Linked DNA regions of Homo sapiens: regions 1, 2 and 3 are each linked to region 4. The links are contacts of gene promoters, found by promoter capture Hi-C in blood cells and fetal thymus (Javierre and others, 2016). All regions are on one chromosome and are shown on one strand. The core of a region is centred on a gene start or on the middle of the fragment in contact, and the rest is flanking DNA. Distances in the headings are between cores, read along the strand shown.

Evidence for each region. The method cuts DNA at HindIII sites, captures the fragments that hold promoters and counts their contacts. A CHiCAGO score of 5 or more calls a contact.
Region 1: a contact is called between a fragment that was not itself captured here and the fragment with the promoter of ZNF160 in region 4, in 1 of 17 cell types (total CD8 T cells). The highest score is 5.2, in total CD8 T cells.
Region 2: the fragment with the promoter of ZNF614 here is called in contact with the fragment with the promoter of ZNF160 in region 4 in 2 of 17 cell types (activated CD4 T cells and naive B cells); the score reaches 6.4 in activated CD4 T cells.
Region 3: a fragment that was not itself captured here is called in contact with the fragment with the promoter of ZNF160 in region 4 in 1 of 17 cell types (non-activated CD4 T cells); the score reaches 5.1 in non-activated CD4 T cells.

Annotation. Positions count from the first base shown.
Region 1 is chr19:52,094,503-52,098,043 of GRCh38, forward strand. It overlaps ZNF841 (zinc finger protein 841), which reads right to left and starts at 1,263. Exons shown (of 7, transcript NM_001136499.2): 1 at 1,073-1,263. The HindIII fragment of the contact is 4,438 bases long and covers 1-3,541 here.
Region 2 is chr19:52,026,830-52,030,155 of GRCh38, forward strand. ZNF614 (zinc finger protein 614) reads right to left here and starts at 1,550. Exons shown (of 5, transcript NM_025040.4): 1 at 1,413-1,550. LOC112268244 (a long non-coding RNA gene) reads left to right here. Exons shown (of 2, transcript XR_002958414.2): 2 at 283-2,951. RefSeq lists enhancers at 37-807, 1,278-2,037. The HindIII fragment of the contact is 7,426 bases long and covers 1-3,326 here.
Region 3 is chr19:51,918,910-51,922,332 of GRCh38, forward strand. No RefSeq gene overlaps it. Among named protein-coding and RNA genes, the nearest start is that of ZNF613, 6.9 kb to the right of the region's middle. The HindIII fragment of the contact is 3,557 bases long and covers 140-3,423 here.
Region 4 is chr19:53,101,733-53,105,020 of GRCh38, forward strand. It overlaps ZNF160 (zinc finger protein 160), which reads right to left and starts at 1,690. Exons shown (of 6, transcript NM_001322131.2): 1 at 1,533-1,690. RefSeq lists a silencer at 1,733-2,142. The HindIII fragment of the contact is 3,069 bases long and covers 1-2,932 here.

The DNA.
Region 1 (3,541 bases), core at 212-2,711, 1.0 Mb before region 4:
TTTCTCCCCAATCTTTCCGATTGTCCCCAATCTCCACGTATTTCTGCCTCTTTTCCCCCATCTAAGCTCCCTCTCTGCTCTCCTTGTTAAATTCCCTCTTCCCTGTTACATCTCCTTTGTTCCCACTCTCTAGCACCCCCAATTTCCTAGGCTTACTCCCTGCTGTGGTTCTCCCTCTACTCTGCTTGTCACCCACTGCCCTCTCTCCCTCTCTTTCAGTCCCAGCACCACGTAGCTCTGTCAGCCGCGGCTCCAACTCTTTCACCTTCTCCCCACTGTCTGTCTGTCTGCAGTGCCTCCTCCTTTGCCGCCCCACTCTATTTTGCTGCCCTTCATCTCTCTGAAGGTCCCCTTTTTTTCTAAATTTCTCTGTGTGCTTTTCTCCCCCTGCTACTTTTTCCATCCGTTCTCTTTCACTCTTGCTCTCTTTGCAAGTCCCTAAAGTATCATCCATTTTGCCGTGTATTTATGGGTCTCCCTCATTCTTTTCTCCTCAGTTTTTCCTTTTGCTCCGTCGTTCCCCGTCTTTTCCTCTCCTGATCCCTCTCACCCACACATTCGGGAGGAAAGGGGAGGAATAGGATGCCCACCTCCCGGAAGAGCACATTTTCCAGTGGAGTAAAATTTGGGAAGGAAGAACACTGGGTGTCACAAGACAGACTCAGGTAACCTGTCCCAACGGGGAGTCAAGAAAAGCAGTGGCTGTGAAGGGGAAGCCTGGGGAGCGGAAGGACCCGGCGTGAGGACGACACGAGGTGGCGCGGAGAACGATGTCTCACGACAGGGAGGGTCTGCAGAATCCCAGGACGTGGGAGGAGAAGCGGCTCCTTCAGGAGCCGGACAGTGGGCGCTCCCCTCCAGGGGCAGACGACGGAGGAGCTCGGGGATCGCGAAGGGCGCTAGTCCACATCCCGAATGAGGACTCGACTTGGCGCGGGGCCCAAGCAGAGGGTTTTAAGCGGGAACACTACCTGAATGGGGTTGTCTACATGGTCCTAAGGAAGAAAGGCAGAGAGCAAGGAACGGCCTCAGAGAGATTTTAAACCGAAAGGGAAGCAATTCTCCTACTTACTTGGGACGAAGGGGCTGTTGCGGGTATTTTAAGGTCCGTAGCGATCCCCAGGTCACGGGTATGGAGAACCGAGGACTGCGAAGTGCACGTTTAATCAAGGTAGACGAAGAGAAGCAAACGTTTAATCCAGGTAGACTGAAACACACTCATAGCGACGTGGCCTTTCCCCAGCGCGATCTGCTTCCGGGTGTGCAGGAAACTGGGCGCGGAAAGAAAAACTGGGCGGCCTGGGGGCGGGGCCTAGGCGGGGCGCGACTAGGAAAGGGCTGGGCGGAAAGACTGGCCTGACTTGGGAGTGGCCCGAAAGGGTGGTGGGAGGCCCAGGGCGGTAGGGGGCGTGACTAGGTGGGGCTTGGCTGGACCGAAAACTGGGATGAAGCGGGGCCTCCAGGGGTGGGCGGGGCCGAGGCGGGGCCTGTTCTCCACTCCGCCTCTCACCCAGCAGGATTTTGTTTTCCAGGTTTGGGAGTATTTGTGACTATTTCTTGTCCTGTGAAGCAGCGTTGCTCCTTGCCCATTTTAAATTAATGTTTCAGAATTTAAGGTTGAATCTTAAAGTTGTGGTCCACTTATACTGGAAACTAAGATGATTTATTCTTAACAAGTTGAACTGATTTAAGTCAAAACCGATTTTTCCGAGCCTGGTGGACTCCATCCAGTCTTACCAGAAAAGCTGAAGCTACTCAGTAGTCAGGGAACTGGGATCTCGGTGGGGATTGGATGTGGAGCAGTGACTGGATCCAGGAACCCAGAAGACATTATGCCAAGCGAAATGTGCTAGACACAGTGTAGAAAATGAAATAAGTAGAGGTTCCTCTTCAAAGGGACTTTCCTCCCAGTCTAATTGAGAATAGATAGTAACCTCTCTTAGAAGCAAAATTTACTCAAAGACCTGTGCTAATATTCTTAAATATCTGCTAGCCATAATAGATAAATCAATATACTCTGTGTTCTTAGCTCCCACATTTTAGCCTAGATATTTGCCCTGGCATGCCTGAATTGTTCCAAGCAAGCATTAGGTCACAGCCTATTCCTCTTCCTTATTTGGAAGTGTTTTTGCCTCTCTCAGCCTTCCACAAGTTACTTCCTCTCTTCCTTTGTTCTCCTCTGCCTTTGCCTCTTTTGGGAAGTTCTAAGGTGCTAGCCAATCAGGTCAAGCACAGAATTGGGTCCGATTCCAGCCAATGGAAACCAGACACAGCAGTAGGGTGGACGCGTCAGGTTATTATTATTATTATTTTTTTTGAGACGGAGTCTCGTTCTTTCGCCCAGGCCGGAGTGCAGTGGCGCTATCTCGGCTCACTGCAAGCTCTGCCTCCTGGGTTCACGCCATTCTCCTGCCTCAGCCTCCCGAGTAGCTGGGACTAGAGGCACCTGCCACTGCGCCCAGCTAATTTTTTGTATTTTTAGTAGAGACGGGGTTTCACTGCGTTAGCCAGGATGGTCTCGATCTCCTGACCTCGTGATCCGCCCACCTCGGCCTCCCAAAGTGCTGGGATTACAGGCATGAGCCACCGCGCCCGGCCAGATGCGTCAGGTTATAAATGACCCTTCTCTTTTGTTCATGTGTACTCTCGTGGCAAGACTGCTAGTGAGCAGCACCCTTTCTGCAGAAAGTAAACTAGCCTTGCTGAGAGATCCTTTGTCTCAGTGTTGATTTTTGCGACACTGAGCACCCGTTCCCAACACACACAAAGAAACATACTTCATGCACTTACTTACACGTGCTAAGTACAAACATCAAATTCAGAGTAACAAAGTAGAAGGGTGGTTTCCAGGGCTGAGGGTGTTTCCTATGCCTGTCCCACCATTGTATTTTGGAAGCAGATAACTTCTCTGGCTTCACAGATTCACAGCTGGGCAGAAACTTTGCCTCAGGATGAACCACACCTTGTGTCTCACCCATATGTGATTCAGATAATATTTAGGTGATATTTGGGCCTTAGAGTTGATACTGAAATGGATTAAGACTTTTCAGATGGGCCAGGCAAGGTAGCTTAGGCCTGTAACCCCAACAATTCAGGAGGCCGAGTCTGGCAGATTACTTGAGCTCAGGAGTTCAAGACCAGCCTGGGCACATAGCAAGAACCCCGTCTCTACAGAAGATATAAAAATTAGCCATGCTTAGTGGCACACTCCTGTAGTCCCAGCTACTTGGGCGGCTGAAGTGGCAGGATCACTTAAGGCCAAGGATTTGAGACCAGCCTGGGCAACATAGTCAGACCCCATCTCTACAAAAAATTAAATTAGCCAGGCATGGTGGCCTGCATGTGTGGTCCCAGCTATTGGGAGGCTGAGGCAGGAGGATCACTTGAGCCCAGGAGGTCGAGACTGTGACAAGTCATGATTACGCCACTGCACTCCAGCCTGGGTGACAGAGAGAGACCCCATCTCAAATAAATAAATAAAAGATTTTTGTTCTGATGGGAGTGAAGGGATCTTGCATGTAAGAAGGACATAAAGTTTAGG
Region 2 (3,326 bases), core at 300-2,799, 1.1 Mb before region 4:
TGTACCGAAATGTTTGTGTGCGTGCACATCAAGGCACAGCACGTTTCCTTAAACTTATTTATGACACAGAGACCTTTGTTCACATGTTTTCCTGCTGACCCTCTCCCCACTATTACCTTATTGTCCTGCCACATCCCCCTCTCCGAGGTGGTAGAGATAGTGATCAATAAATACTGAGGGAACTCAGAGACCAGTGCCAGCGTGGGTCCTCCGTATGCTGAGTGCTGGTCTCCTGGGCCCACTTTTCTTTCTCTATACTTTGTCTCTTATTTCTTTTCTCAGTCTCTCATCCCACCTGACAAGAAACACCCACAGGTTGTGGAGGGGTGGCCCCCTTCAAGGTGAATTCTCAGACAGATCAATTTTAGGAAAGAGAACACATGGAAGGCTCCAAGAATGTCTTTAAAAACCACGTGTGCCCATGTACTGGTTCGAAAGTCTCTGTAAGCTCTTTGGGTATACATACCTCGTGTCAAGACCAATGTACTAAGCAAATCACAAGAACTGTCTCATTTCACATTATGCGCTAAAGGAGTAACTTTACCCAAGAGAGCTTTGTCCTTTGCCCACAGTTCCTATGAGGCAAACTCTAAGCCTTTGGAATACGCTGCTTGATAAAACTGTCTTTGGTTATCAGGGCAATTTAAGCCATGCCAAATTGTCTATCCTAATAATGTGATTTACTGTGGGAGACCTTGGACCACGTGGTATTAGTTTGATATCTGGAGGAGCTGGAGATTGAAGTCAGCCTCATAGGCAGTCAATTGTGTGTGTGTGTGTTAACTGATATCCAATAAAACTCTGGACACCAAGGCCTAGGTGAGTGGCAACAATGGTTACAATGGCTGGCAATAATAATATAAGGGTGTATATATAAGAATATGATAATTTAAAAACGTATGAAGCAAAACAGAATGAGAGAGGATTAGACAATTCAACAATAATAATTGAAGACTACATTACCCTACTTGCAATAATAAAGAAAACAAATAGAAACTCAGCAAGGATACCGAAAACTTGAACAACATTATCAACCAACTAGACTTAACGAACATTTAACACTGCACTCAACAGCAGTAAAATAAACATTTTTTTCAAGAGCACATGTTATATTCTTCAGGAAAGATAATATCCCATGTGATAGCCTGAGATAGGGCCTCATGGGAAGGGAAAGACCTGACCGTCCCCCAGCCCAACACCCGTAAAGGGTGACTCACAAGGGCCCCAGACCCAGACAGAGTCGGACTCGTCGCTGATTTCCTCAGACTCTTCATCCCTACAGCCAAAGGACCCGTCATTAACGCCCCGCTTCCTCAGCGACTGCGTTCAAATACAGCCCCAATCAGGACGCTCCACGCACCATCGGTACACAGACCCACAGGCCGCGAGTCCATGCCCAGAACTCGACTCACCCGAGCCCGAACCTCTCCAGACACCACTGGCAGCGACAAAACGCCGCATCCACGTCCGAAAACGCTTCCTATTCAGACGCGCTCCTGCGCGGACTCCGGGAAGCTGAGCGGTAAAGACCGTGAAGCGAGGCGAGGACCACGGAGCCTGCCCGGGATCGCGAGTTCAGACTGCGGGCGCCGCTCTATGAGGTCACAGGGCTGCGCCCATCGCAGCGTTTCTGACAGGAGCGGCCATAATGGCTGTGGGAATCACTCTTAGTCACCTCAGTGCCTTTCTCTCTTCGTTGCAAGGGACACTCAAGAGTCGGGTGCCCAGCCAAGGCCAACACGGCGCAGTGGCATTCTATTCAGCCTGCTGTGGAAAAAAGATGGCGGCGCCCTTTGTGCCCATTATAGCTGAGAGTGGAGCCTTAGCTGGAGCACCATGGGCACGGCCATCTTAGAGGAAGGCAGCAGCCGTACGGCAGAGAAGATGCTCATATCCAGGACAATTTGGAAAAATAAACAAGGTTTGAAGAAGTCACGGTGCTGGCCAGGAAGCGGTCACAGAGTTGCCAAAACCAGTGGTCACTGAAAGTGTTAGATTTGGGGATAGGGCGGGGGTTCTGGGCTGGGTAAGGCTTTTGTGGGTTAGATTAGACTCTGACTGAATGGACGAAGCCGAGAACAGGAGTGATGCTCCATTAAATGCTAATACCCACATGGGGCTTGCTATTAAAACCACTGCCAGTGGGGAAGGGGATGAGGAGGTGAAGGTGCAACTGTGTTAATATCTACATGTTTCCTTCCAGAAGTAAAGGAAGATGACAGTGGGGCACTTAAGAATATGAAATTATTAGAATGCGATCATCCTACTTTGCAATGTTTCCAGATTTTTTAAAAAGTCACACTTAAAAAATATTAGTTCTATTTTTGCAGATGTTGGCGTTGTAACTGTAGAAGATTTAAGTAAATATTGTATTTTTGGAAGGCAACCTAGAGCCAATTTAATTTTTTCGTTTTCTTTGACACAGCAATTCTAAAAGCTATCTAGGCAAATCTGTCTTAATATTAACCACAACTTTTGTAATTTACAAAAAAAGGGAATTACAATGAGAGATGAATACTTTGGTAAATTATGGAACATCTGCTGAACTGTAAGAGTATATATCAATTTAAAAGAATATGCTACAATTGTTTTATAAAAAAGAAAACTTTGTCAGAGGACAAAAAAATGATCTGCAGGATAGTATATATTTTATGGTCTTGTTATTGGAAGAAATCATAAACATCTTTTGGAAAATTGTGATTGGTTAAACAAGACATTTAGTTTGAATTAATATTGTTTGTGTTCATAGGTAGAGAATGCCATGTTTTTACTTGAAAAATATTCCCAATTTATACTTAATTTTACTATCTTTGTACCATAATCATGAATATATTATAAAACATGTTGATCTTAGAAAATAGGTATGATGATGTATAATAAGTTCATGGCATGATAAATGCAAAATAGGCTGTTTTCTTTCAGAAAATAAATATGCTCATGCATTTGAAAAATTCTGGAGAATATACTAACAATATTTGACTGTTCCGTACAATTATGGTGACTTAAAATTTCTTCATTTTACTTACGTTTTGTAATTTCTAGAGAATAAGAATTTCATGTTCGTATTTCTTGAGTGTTATAACATATTCCATCCAGGATTAAATTTCAGCCCCGTTCATCTGGAATGTTAATCTCTGGTAGGTAAGTTTAGCACCTGGTCCACAGGACTATGAGCAGCCCATGATGGGACCTTCACTGATCATTTCCAGGAGTGGGCTGATAAAACTTTGCCGTGGCAGGCTGTGCTGATTCACGGGACAAGGAAGGTGATTCAAGGGCCTGGTTGGTGGAGCACTTTTGTCTGATTCATTGCTGGAGACAATCTG
Region 3 (3,423 bases), core at 668-3,167, 1.2 Mb before region 4:
TGTAGAGACAGGGTCTTACTATGTTGCCCAGGCTGGTCTCAAATTCCTGGGCTCAAGTGATCTTCCCACCTCAGCCTCCTAAAGTGCTGGGATTACAAGTGTGAGCCACCATCGCCCAGCTCACATTGTGAATATTTTAAGCTTCATTTATATAACTGGAATTTTAAAAAAATAAGTAGATAAGTATTGGCTTTGAACAGAGAGCTAACACTGCATTCTTGGGTGTGAAGAGATTATGAAGGGAAACTCTAAGACTCTGTCAACATAACTTGGAACTGTTTACTAATCAATGTAAATAGGAGTTTCTCTACCTCAGCACTACAGGTTGAGCATCCCTGCTTCAAAATTCTGAAACCTATAATGCTCCAAAATCTGAAATTCTTTTTAGGGCTGAGGTGATGCACAAAGGTCATGCTTGAAGGAAATGCTTACCAGGACATTTCAAATGTTGGATTTTCAGATTAGGGATGCTCAACTAGTAAGTATAAGTAAGTAAGTAAGCAAGCATTCTGAAAAAAAAAAAAATCTAAAATCTGAAACACTTCCAGTCCCAAGCATTTCTGATAGGGGATGCTCAATCTGCATTTGTTGGAGGCCGAGAAAATGGGGGTTGTGACCAACCCAGTATACCACTGGAGGCTATATGAGCAAACAGAAAACTGTTCTCATGAAAGCAGGATGTTGGAAAACTGACAAATTGCATCTGCCACCAGAAGGAGTGCCAAGAGCAGTCACACCCCAGGCAGAGTGTTCCTTGTGGTTTGTAGGGAGCCAAAGGCCCATGGGACATGATCAGCTCAGCATTCCACTGGAAGCTACATGATCAAACAGCAAACTGTTTATCACAAATGCAGGATATGGGCAAACTCACGACTGTGCCTGCTGACAGAAAGTTTGCTGGCGGCTATCATTCCCTGGCGCTGAGGTTATCTGCTGGGACATCTAGAGCCTGTTGTTTGAGGAATGCAATCTTGCAAGCCTACTCTGGACCAACCAACTGACCCCTTCTTCCACACCCCTTCTCACTATCCCTTTTGCCTAATAAATACAAAGGGCTGTGTAAAGCTCAGAGCCTTTGTCCACTAGAGGCAAGGTGCTCCTTGACCCCTTCTTCCAAATATACTCTTTTGTCTCGTCTTTTATTCCCGCATTTGCCCCACTTTGTTCAGCCCACCAGGGATTGTGGCAGGTTACATAGTGGCCCCCCCCAAACAGTGACAGAATCGAGTGCTCCACAGTGGTTATCTATAGGAACATCTGAAGCCTGTTGTATAAAGAAAGTAATTATGTGTACCTCTAATGAATCAAAGCAGCTGACCAACCGTTACCTCTCTCTCCCTATTGATTCTACCTAATACATATGAAGGGCTGTAGAAGCTGAGGGCTGTCTTTGCTCACTAGAAGCAAGGAGTCCCCTGACCCCTTCTTTTAAAATGTATCTTTTTGTCTTTGTCTTCACTTCTGCATTTGTCCCATTTCGTTCAATCCCATAGGAACAGACTGTAACAGGCATTGACATTTTGGTTTGGAGAATTCTTTATTTTGGGGCACTGTAGTGTCATTGTAGGATGCTTAGCAGCATTCTTAGCCTCTATCCACTAGCTCCAATTAGCACACCCTCCTTTCCCAGGTGTGACAATCAAAAATTTCTCCAGACATTGCCAAATGTCACCTGGGGTCAAAAAATGAAAACCACTGATAAAAAAAAAAGCAGAATATTGAGGACTCTTTGTGGAAGACCATATGATGGTCATAGAATCCATCCATCTTAAAAATCTCTACATTTTATCCCTGAATAAAAACAGACCCCCAGGAGGCTGTGGACTTTGGCTACACTGTTCTGGGTCCCTGAAGCACTCTGATCACTGAGTTTGGTTTTGGTATTACACCACTGGCTTATCTGTGGGGGCACTAACTTCTATATGATCTATATCATGACCCATCAAAGAAATTTCTTCTTAAGTAACATGAAATATTCACTTTTCTAGAGGAGCTTTCTCCTCAGGGAAAAGGAAACGATTTGTTATTGTGTCCATGTGGTAGACTGCATTTCCCAAAGATGACCACAATAATATCTCACATTCCAAAGAAAACCTTCTGCTAAATCTTGCCACTCCCACACGAAGAGATGGAGCCTATTCCCTTCCCCCTTGAACCTAGCTAGTCTTGGTGATTTGCTTGTACCTGCAGAATACAACAGAGGTGACACAACATAACTTCCGAGGCTAAGGCAGAAAAGCATGGGGGAAAGAATGAGAGATCAGACTATTACTGCATCTATGTAGAAAAAGGAAGACAAAAGAAACTCCATTTTGATCTGTACTAAGAGAAATTATTCTGCCTTGAGATGCTGTTAATCTGTAACCCTAGCCCCAACCCTATGCTTGCAGAAACATGTATTGTATTGACTCAAGGTTTAATGGACTTAGGGCTGTGCAGGATGTGCCTTGGTAAAAATGTGTTTGCAGGCAGTATGCTTGGTAAAAGTCATGGCCATTCTCCAGTCTCGAGTACCCAGGGACACAATGCACTGCAGAAAGCCACAGGGATCTCTGCCCAAGAAAGCCTGTGTATTGTCCAAGGTTTCTCTCCACTGAGACAGCCTGAGATATGGCCTCATGGAAAGAGAAAGACCAGACTGTCCCCCAGCCTGACACCCATAAAGGGTCTGTGCTGAGGAGGATTAGTGAAAGAGGAAGACCTCTTTGCAGTTGAGATAAGAGGAAGGTATCTCTCTCCTGCTCATCCCTGGGAATGGAATGTGTCAGTGTAAAACCCGATCGTACATTCTATTTACTGAGATAGGAGAAAACTGCCTTATGGCTGGAGGTGAGACATGGTGGGGGCAATACTGTCTTTACTTCACTGAGATGTTTGTGTAAAGTCAAAGATAAATCTGGCCTATGTGCATATCAAGGCACAGCACCTTTCCTTAAACTTATTTATAACACAGAGTCCTTTGCTCACGTTTTCCTGCTGACCCTCTTCCCACCATTACCCTATAGTCCTCCCACATCCCCCTCACCGAGATAGTAGAGATAGTAATCAATAAATACTGAGGGAACTCAGAGACCAGTGTTGGTGCGGGTCCTCCGTATGTTGAGTGCCGGTTCCCTGGGCCCACTTTTCTTCCTCGATAGTTTGTCTCTGTGTCTTATTTCTTTTCTCAGTCTCTCGTCTCCACCTTGTGAGAAATACCCACAGGTGTGGAGGGGCAGGCCTCCTTCATCTGGCACCCAACATGGGGCACGAACCCATGACCCTGAGATTAAGAGTCTCATGCTCTACCGACTGAGCTAGCTGCAGAATGCAACAGAGGTGACACAACATAACTTCTGAGGCTAAGGCAGAAAAGGCCCTGTGGCCGCATCTTGGCTGTCTCAGAGCCAGCATCATGCTGTGAGAAGCCCATCCATGTCACAT
Region 4 (3,288 bases), core at 440-2,939:
CCCATAACTGAATGAGGCAAGTCACTGCCCAATGGCTAAACAGCATGGGCAAATGAAAGCTAGCCTCTTATGCCATAATTGTAAAATGCACAAGCCTTTTACACAGAGCTTTGTAATTCTCATCCTTATATGTAGAATTTAAACAATTAGATTACAATTTAAATGTAACACATTATAAATAGAGAAATCAAATTGTCATATCCAATCTCAACTCACCTCTCACCTGGCCCCAGGGCGCCCCTCTTTCTTTATAACTATGTGTTCCTCTCCCCCATTTTGTGCCTCTCACTTTCACCTTGTCTCTCCAGCCTTTTTCCCCTTTTATCTTCCCCCTAGGATTCTGACGATGTTGTGCCTCTTTTTTCTTCTGCTGTTTCTCCCTTCTTTGTTTTTTCCCCTTATATCTGTTCTACTCCATTCTTCCAATTTGTTTCACCTCTTGTGGCGTTTTCTTTCCAATCTTTTCATCGTCCCAATCTCCATCTATTTCTGCCTCTTTCTTACCCCATCTCCGCGCCTCCTCTGCTCTCCCTGTTAAATCCCCTCTTCCCTGTTACACCCGCTTATCCCCACTCTCTGGCACTCCCAGATCCCAGGCCTCCCTGTGTTGTGGTGCTCCCTCTGCTCGCCTTGTCACCAGCTGTCCCCTCCAGCTGTCCCAGCACCACGCAGCTCTGTCTGCCCTCGGCCAAATCCTTTCTCCTCTCCCCCACTCTCTGTCTGAGGAGGCTCCTTCTTTGCTGTCCCTCTCCTTATCTTGTTGTCCTGCATCTCGGGACATCGAGCTTTTCTCTACATTTCGCCAATTGCTTTTCTGCCCCTGCTACTTTCTTGACTGCTTCTTTCACTCTGTCGCTGCAAATCTCTCACCCATCCTCCACTTTGCCATCTGTTTATGGGTCTCCCTCATTTTTCTTTTCTCTTTCTTGGTTTTTCCATCTCCTCTCAGTGGCTCTTTGTCTCTCTTTCTCCTGATTCCCTTGGGCCACACATTCACTGGAGGGTTTGTAGTAAGATGTCTGCATGTTGGAGGAGTACATTTTCCAGGGGGTGGAGCTGGGCAGGCAAAAACACCGGGTGTCACAGGACGGGCCCCGGGCACCTCCCCAACGAGGGCTCAAGGGAAGCGGTGACTGCGAAGGGGAGGCCTGGGGAGCAGCAGGGCCCGGCACGAGGAGGAGGGAGGTGGGGGGCGACGGCGCCTTAGGACAGGGGTGGGATGTGCAGGATCCCAGGACCAGGCGGAGGCGCGGCCTCCCCGGGACTGGGTCGGCGGCGCTGCGCTCCAGGGGCCGACGAGAGCGAGGCTGGGAGGCGCCCAGGGCAGGCGGTGAGGACTTTAAGCGATGCGGGGCGGGAGGAGGAGTCAGTAAAGGATTTTAAGCAGGAAAATCCTGCTTAAACGTTTAAAAAACCGGGAAAGGCCGTGTTTACTTGGCCCAAGGCAGAAAGACCGGGGGCAGGGACCAGCCTCAGGGCGACTTTAACCCAAAAGGAAGCGTCTCCGGGCCCACACAGCAAGGCCTATTTACCTGAGGTGGAGGGTGCGGTGCGGAGATTTTAAGTCCGTAGCGACCCCCGGGCATCGGGTGTGCGAATGGGGGACGGCGAGGCGCAGGTTGAGTCTACACAGAGGAACACTCATACGCCATGGTGTGATGCTTGCTCCGCACGATCCACTTCCGGGTCTGTGGGCAACTGCGCGAAGGAAAGCGACCGAGCGGCCCGGGGCGGGGTCCGAGATGGGCGGAACCGGAAAAGGGCGGGGCGTTGAGAGAGCCGGGCTGAAGCAGGGGCCGCCAGGCAGGGACCCCAGGGAAGGAACGGGGAGGAGCCACCGGGGAGGGGTGGGGAGTGACCAAGTGGAGGGACCCGGGGGCGGGCCGGGGAGGAGCCGCCGGGGAAGGGCGGGGAGGAACCGCGGGAAGGGACCGCGGGGGAGGAAGGCGAAGGGACCGCGGGGGAGGGAGGCAGAGGGACCGCCAGGAAGGGACCCGGGGGAGAGGCGGGGCTGGACGGGACACGTTAGGGTCTGCGATTTCGTGTGATGCCCACAGCCCAGCGCCCAGAGCCATCTGTAGTGTCTTGTGGAACGGCGTAGATGTTTCAAACGGTTTCAAGTTAAAAGCACAGTTGTGTAGGTTATTTTGGAAACCAAACTGCTTTCCTCTTAGAATGGAGGCGGTTTATGTTGAAAGCATTTTTTGCTAGCGCGTTTACCCAGTAATGTTATTGACGCTGAAGCAGCCCAGGAGTCTGGGAACATGGGTTGACACGGAGCGGTGATGGCATGCTGGAAAAGTTTCTGCGATTAAAATTAAGTAATTTAAAAGCCCTGAAATTAGCAGTAACTTTTAAAAAATAGATATAAATTGCATTGTCCTTTTTTATACTTACTATTCTATTCCGTGCGAGATGACAACCTCAAACGCCTATACTTTTTTTTTTTTTTTTTGAGCCGGAGTCACGCTCTGTCGTCCAGGCTGGGGTGCAGTGGCATGATCTCTGCTCACTGCAACCTCGGCCTCCCGGGTTCAAGCAATGCTCCTGCCTCAGCCTCCCGAGTAGCTAGGATTACAGGCGCCCGCCACCACGTTCTTTAGCGGAGATGAAGTTTCACCATGTTGCCTAGGCTGGTCTCGAATTCCTGACCTCAAGTGATCCACCCGCCTCAGCCTCCCAAAGTGCTGGGATTACAGGCGTGAGCCACCATACCTGGCCCCAGGAACTACTTTCACCTACTGAATATATATTAAGTCCTTTGCCACAAAAAGATAATATACATAATTTATCTCAGAACAATTAAGATATTTACCACTGTAAATGACAAATTCAGACTTAGAGAAGGAAGATTTTATTCAAAAGGACTATTGCAATAGAGAGAATGTTCCAATCACAAGATCTGAAAATGTCCAAGAGACACAAACTAAAAAGCTTTTTTTTCTTTTTTTCATATATGGAGGAGTAAACAAGGCTAGAAAGCACAAGCACAAGTTATGAGGCTGTGGATGAGCACTTGGCATGACTACAGTTATTCAGGGAAAGTTTGTTATGTTATGTTATGTTATGTTAAAAATGTTACATATTTCTTGGAGAGAGTCTTGCTCTGTCACCCAGGCTGGAGTGCAGTGGCGTCATCTCTGCTCACTGCAACTTTTCATCTACCAGGCTCAGGCAATCCTCCCACCTCAATCTCCCCAGTAGCTGGGACTACAAGCACACGTCACCATGCCTAGTTAATTTTTGTACTTTTTGTAGAGACGGGGTTTCGCCATGTTGCTCAGGCTA